2 separate regions of the Homo sapiens genome follow, and region 1 is linked to region 2. Evidence: promoter capture Hi-C in 16 types of primary human blood cells and fetal thymus (Javierre and others, 2016). All regions are on one chromosome and are shown on one strand. Each heading gives the region's core, a stretch centred on a gene start or on the middle of the fragment in contact. The rest is flanking DNA. Distances are from core to core; before and after follow the strand shown. Region 1 holds the start of NSD2 (nuclear receptor binding SET domain protein 2). Region 2 overlaps SLBP (stem-loop histone mRNA binding protein).

What was found. The method cuts DNA at HindIII sites, captures the fragments that hold promoters and counts their contacts. A CHiCAGO score of 5 or more calls a contact.
Region 1: the fragment with the promoter of NSD2 here is called in contact with a fragment that was not itself captured in region 2 in 1 of 17 cell types (naive B cells); the score reaches 5.0 in naive B cells.

What each region holds. Positions count from the first base shown.
Region 1 is chr4:1,869,618-1,872,710 of GRCh38, reverse strand. NSD2 (nuclear receptor binding SET domain protein 2) reads right to left here and starts at 1,318. Exons shown (of 22, transcript NM_001042424.3): 1 at 1,169-1,318. RefSeq lists silencers at 885-1,584, 1,635-1,864, 1,895-2,154 and an enhancer at 1,888-2,389. The HindIII fragment of the contact is 4,701 bases long and covers 1-3,093 here.
Region 2 is chr4:1,697,690-1,700,577 of GRCh38, reverse strand. SLBP (stem-loop histone mRNA binding protein) reads left to right here. Exons shown (of 8, transcript NM_006527.4): 4 at 508-567; 5 at 877-1,014. Among named protein-coding and RNA genes, the nearest start is that of SLBP, 13 kb to the left of the region's middle. The HindIII fragment of the contact is 160 bases long and covers 1,287-1,446 here.

The DNA of each region.
Region 1 (3,093 bases), core at 69-2,568, 170 kb before region 2:
GTAGCACTGAAGAGCTGCTCCTGAGCCAGGCCTGAACTTTATCCAATTAGTCTTGTCTTCACAGGGTCTGCGCGCTCTCTCTCTCTCTCTCTCTCTCTCTCTCTCTCTCTCTCTCTCTCACACACACACACACACACACACACACAAAATACACGTTATCTACCTAAAAACGATTAACGTCACCACATCAGTTTTGATACTATGTTTCCACTTGAATGTCAAAGCCCATCGTGGGCACAGAAAGATTCGTGCTGCAATGGGTCCTATACAATACCCTCATCCATTTTATTTCTACCGAAACTTAAGACCAGCATTTTTTAAACGCCGAGATTTTAAACCACGGTTCCTGTGAGTGGAGCAAAACCAGCCATTAAGTCGCCAGGTCCCATCTCATGCACTGAGGCTTCAAGGACTATCAATCTGCATCCTGGGGCGAGGGGAACATCCCAGGCGGAGGCCCGGACGCCGAGGGCGCGCAGCCCCCCAGCAGGGTACCCACACCCGGCTCACCCCCGCCTCCACCTGCCAAGGGCCGGACCGCGGCCCGGCTTCCCGGGGGAGCGTCCGCGCTGACCAACGCCCGGGCGCCGCGAGTGTCAACGCCAGACACCGCCTGCAAACAAAAAGCGACCCTCGGCCCGACCCCTGGCCCCGGCGCCGGCCCCGGGACCCCAACCTGCCCCTCCCACCGCGGCCGCCCCGGACCGGGGGCGCCGCACAAAGGCCGGCCCGACCCGCTCGGCGCCGCGGGAACAAAGGCGGCCGCCTCGGCCGGGCCGGGCACAGGTGCAGCCGCAGGGCCCGGCCGGGCCCAACATGGCCGCGCCCGCCCGCCCGGCCCCGTTAGCCGCCGCCGCCCGCAGGCCGCCGCCCCTCCCCTGCCCGGACTCGTCCCGGCCTCCGCGGTCCGCCCGGTCCTCCCGCCGGCCCTCAGGCCTCCGCGGTCCTCGCGGTCCCCACGACCCTCTCAGGCCGCCCGGCCTCCCGGTCCCCCAGCCCCTGAGCCGGCCCCTCAGGCCTCCTCAGTGCCCCCACTCCTCCCGGCGCTCCCGCCCCCTCAGGCCTCCGCGGTCCTCCCCGCCGCCCCTCAGGCCTCCCACAGCCCGGCCTCCCGGCCCCAGCCCCGGCGGTTGGCGGCCCGCGACTGTTGGGCGGGCGCCCCAGTGACCTGCGGTGCGTCGCATCCTCGGCGGGCGGCTCTCCGGAGCGGCAGGCTGGGAGGGGGCCGGGGCCGTGCGGCGGTAGGGCCCAGGCGGGGAGGGGGCGGCGGCGGCGGCGGGCGCAGCGCGGCCAGGCCGAGGCTCTCGCGCGCGGCGCCGACCCCGCCCCCGCGCCTCCCGCCCGCCGCCGCCGCCGCAGCCGGGGCCGCCGCCGCCTCGCAGAAGCCGCGGGAAAAGTGCGCGCCGCTGATTGGCTGCCGCGCTCGCGGGGCCCGCGGACCGGGCTTTTCAAATCCGCGCCGGGGCCGCGCACGGGCGGGGCGGGCAGGCACGCGGCGGGTGGGGGCCGCGCGGGCGGGCGGGGCTGGCAGCGCCGGGAGGGCCGGGCCGCGGGCCCCGCGAGCCGCCTCAGAGTAGCGCCGGGCGCGCGCCCTGCTCCCGCTACTCGGCGGCGCGCACCCGGCCCAGACCCGGCGCCCGCGGGCGCCGCGCTCAGTGACGTCACGATCCGCGCCCAATCACCGTCCGGAGCCGGCGCCCCCGAGCCGTGGGCGCGCGGCCGCGGAGGCTGGCGTTGGGCGCGCGGCCCGCCCGCGCGGGTCCCCAAGCTCCTGTCCCGTGAGAGGGGCGCGGGGCCTGGGGCCCGCGGGAGGCTGCTAGCGGCGTCCGCCTCGCGGAGCGGCAGTGCGGGGACGGGTGGGGAAACCGCCGCAGAGGCCCCGCCGTGGCGGGCCCGGAGCCTCAGAACAGACGTGGCGGAGAGGGTCAGACGCCACGACGGGGCAGGGCAGGGCGTCGTGCTCTTCCCGCCTAACGGCCGCAGGGCGTGAACGAGTCCCCCGGGCGAGGGTCCGACCCGGAGCTGGGCGCGGCTGCGGGAGGACCGCTCGCGAGGGGAGGACGCCTGGTCCAGGGGCGCTACCCCAGCGCCGCTGCGGTAGAGCCGGGCTTCAGGGGGTGGCGCGGGCGACTGCGTGCGGCACAGGGAGGAGGAGGAAGCGGCGCGGGCGAGCGGGGAAGTCAGACGCTGCAAAAAGTGGGCGGGCCGGGCGGTTGAAGCCGGTGTGATTTGCTGCCCGCCGCCCATGGAAGTTCGGCTCCTGCCTCCAGGTGCTGCCGGAGCCGGCGGCCTTGGGTTTTCTGTCACGCAGGTTCAGGGAGCCGGGAACACCTTCGGCCTTGAGCCTTAGTGTCTGCTCGAGCTTTACAGGCCCAGCTTGAGCCCTCGCTGAGAAGCGGGCCCAGGGGAGCCTGGCGAGAGTTTGGTCAAGGAGAGCTTTGTGAAAGTGCGCTACCCGGGCTATAGAACGACACCTCAGCCCAGGTCCTGCCTCCCCGGACCCACCTCCAGCCACCAAGGAGTGGCCACAGTTCACCTCCTCTTCCTCTCCCGCGCCGCCTCCGCTGCTGTCCCTTCACAGGTGCTGGGCCCCTGTATGGGTTGAGTTGTGGCCCCCCCAAAAAAACAAGGGTTGCTGCAAGACTTACTATAAGGCTACAGTAATTGAGACATTGTGGTACTGGTGGAAAAATACACAAATAGATCCATGAACAGAATAGAGAACCCGGATATAGACCACATAATGGAGTCAGCTGAGCTTGACTCTAGGAAATGGAATGGAGAAAAGACAGTCTTTTCGACAAATGGTGCTGGAACAACTGGATGTCCACATGCAAAAAAAAATCAGGCTAGACACAGACTTTACACCCTTAACAAAAATTAATTCAAAATGGAGCCAAGGCCAGTGGCTCACACCTGTGAGAAGTGTGAGCCAGCACTGTGGGAGGCCAAAGTGAAAGGATTGCTTGAGCCCAGGAGTTGGAGACCAGACTGGGCAACATAGCAAGACCTCGTCTCTATCACCAAACAAATAAATGAATTTTTAAAATTACGGCCAGTGCCAGGCATGGTGGCTCACACCTTTAATACAAG
Region 2 (2,888 bases), core at 117-2,616:
AAAAAAAAAAAGATACTCACATGAACTTGGAGCTCAAGGTAGCTCGTGGTTTCAACGTCAGATTGCGCTAGACTCCTTTTGGAGATGTCATACTTTTTTTTTTGCAAAACTGCGTTCTGGTAATGACTGCAATAGAAAGCAGATGCCTCAGGAAGTTCATGAGGAACAAGAGAAAAGGGGGCACGTTTGGTCTCCAGGATTGGAGAAGGTATGCAGTGCCCAGTAGGCATATGAGTCCCATTAGTAAGTTTGGTGTTTTTAAAATAATTTATTTCAATTTATGTTTTGTTTTTCTTTTTTTAAGGCTGCCAAGTTTTAGGGAATGTAAATTTTTGTTGTGTGGATCTCACTACTTAAACTGAACCTGACAAAGATTTCTTTTGGCCCACGGAGCTTCTGGATTGCATAGGATGGTGTGCCTGCGGGCATCAGGGTGGAGCTTCCTCAGACCTGGCTGCTTTATTTTTATATCTTTTTTAAAAACAGCAATATTTATTTTGCCCTCAGATATAAAAGGAAACTCCTCATCAATGACTTTGGAAGAGAGAGAAAATCATCATCAGGAAGGTAAAGGCTGTGTAAATGTTTCTTTTCTAATTTGATAGACCTGTAATTTGTTAAAAAAAAAAAATTGTGACTGTCAGAAATGCTGACTGTCGCAGTAGCATTTATTAATACCTTTTTCACTAATTTGAAATACTGTATCTGTTGTGTACTAAATTCCCATACATGCAGTCTCCGGACTATTTAGGATTCATATGGTTGGGAATCTGGAGTGAATCTTCCATTATTGTGTTTTGACATTTTCTTGGCTTACCTTACATACATGGTGATCTTAATTGCAGGGCTTATTCTGTTAATCTGTTGTTTTTTCAGTTCTGATTCAAAGGAGTCTATGTCTACTGTGCCGGCTGACTTTGAGACAGATGAAAGTGTCCTAATGAGGAGACAGAAGCAGATCAACTATGGGAAGAACACAATTGCCTACGATCGTTATATTAAAGAAGTCCCAAGGTAGTCTTGTTTCAGTGGCATGTCTTGAACAAGCTGTGTGGCATTGCGTTTCTAAAGAGTTGCTTAGATTGGGTAGTACAAATGATGCTGGGGATAGTTCACACCTGCTAAGAGCTATTTAATAGGGACTTACTGGGGCTTATGACGTAAATAAAGAATGGATTGGCAACTGGAAAACTAAAGACATGAAGATTTTAAAAATCATTTTCATATAATTTTGAATGTTAGATAACATTTTATTTCTTAGGAGTCAGCAATCATAGATGTAAGCTTATTAAAATACATGATGGGGAAAAATGAAGTTCAAGTTAAATATTGTAAAATTCTAATTGGAGAAAAAAAAATTGGCATTGCCCTATTGTCTTTAAGCAGCATGTTCTTGCCTATCCTGGTCCCTCAAACACACAGACACAGAAGGATATAAAGAAAGCTTTAGTGTTTTCCTGAACTTTTTGGCAGGATTGGGGTTGAAATTTACATTTCTGGGCCAGGTGCAATGGCTCATGCTTGTAATTCCAGCACTTTGGGAGGCCGAGAGGACTGCTTGAGGCCAGGAGACTAGCCTGGGCAATATAAGGAGACCTCATCTCTACAAAAAATTTAAAAATTAGCCAGGTGTGGTGGTTTGCACCTGTAGTCCCAGCTACTTGGGAGACAGGTGGGAGAACTGCTTCAGCCCAGGAATTCAACGTTACAGTGAACCATTAATCACACCACTGCACTCCAGCCTGGGCTGCAGAGTATGAGACTTTGTCTCTTAAAAAAAAAAATTTTACTTTTGGCTGAGTGCAGTGGCTCATGCCTGTAATCCCAGCACTTTGGGAGGCCGAGGAGTGCGGATCATGAGGTCAGGAGATCGAGACCACCCTGGCTAACACGGTGGAACCCCGTCTCTACTAAAAATACAAGAAATTTGCTGGGCGTGGTGGCACACATTTGTAGTCCCAGCTACTCGGGAGGCTGAGGCAGGAGAATCACTTGAACCTGGGAGGAGGAGGTTGCAGTGAGCCGAGATTGCACCACTGCACTCCAGCCTGGGTCACAGAGCAAGACTCCATCTCAAAAAAAACAATTTTTTTTTTTTTTTTTTACTTTTTTGGAACATAGCTGGCAAAGGAATAGTAAGATTCAATGTGATGGTGCTTTTTTTTTTCCCTCCTGACCGAGTCTTGCTGTTACCTAGGCTGAAGTGCAGTGTTATATCATGTCTCACTGTGTATTCATTTTTTTGAGACGGAATCTTGCTCTGTTGCCCAGGCTGGAGTGCAGTGGCGCAATTTCAACTCCACCTCTCGGGTTCAAGCGATTCTCCTGCCTCAGCCTCCACAGGCGCCTGCCACCACACTTGGTTAATTTTCGTATTTTCAGTAGAGATGGGGTTTTACCATATTGGCCAGGCTGGTCTCGCACTGCTGATCTCGTGATCCGTCTGTCTCTGCCTCCCACAGTGCTGGGATTACAGGGGTGAGCCACCACGCCCAACCATCATGGCTCACTGTAGTCTTAACTCCTGGCCTCAAGCAATCCTCCTACCTCAACCTCCTGAGTAGCTGGGACCAGCGGTGCATGCCGCCACACCTGGCTAAACTTTTAAATTTTTATAGAGATGGGAGTCTCCCTATGTCGCCCAGGCTGGTCTTGAACTCCTGGCCTCAAGTAGTCCTCCCAAAGTACTGTGATTACAAGCGTGAGCCACTGTGCCCAGCGGATAGTGATTTTTTTGAGACCGAGTTTCACTCTAGTCCAGGCTGGAGTACAATGGTGCAATCTTGGCTCACCGCAACCTCCGCCTCCCAGGTTCAAGCGATTCTCCTGCCTCAGCCTCCCAAGTAGCTGGAATTACAGGCATGCGCCACCATGCCTGGGCTAATTTT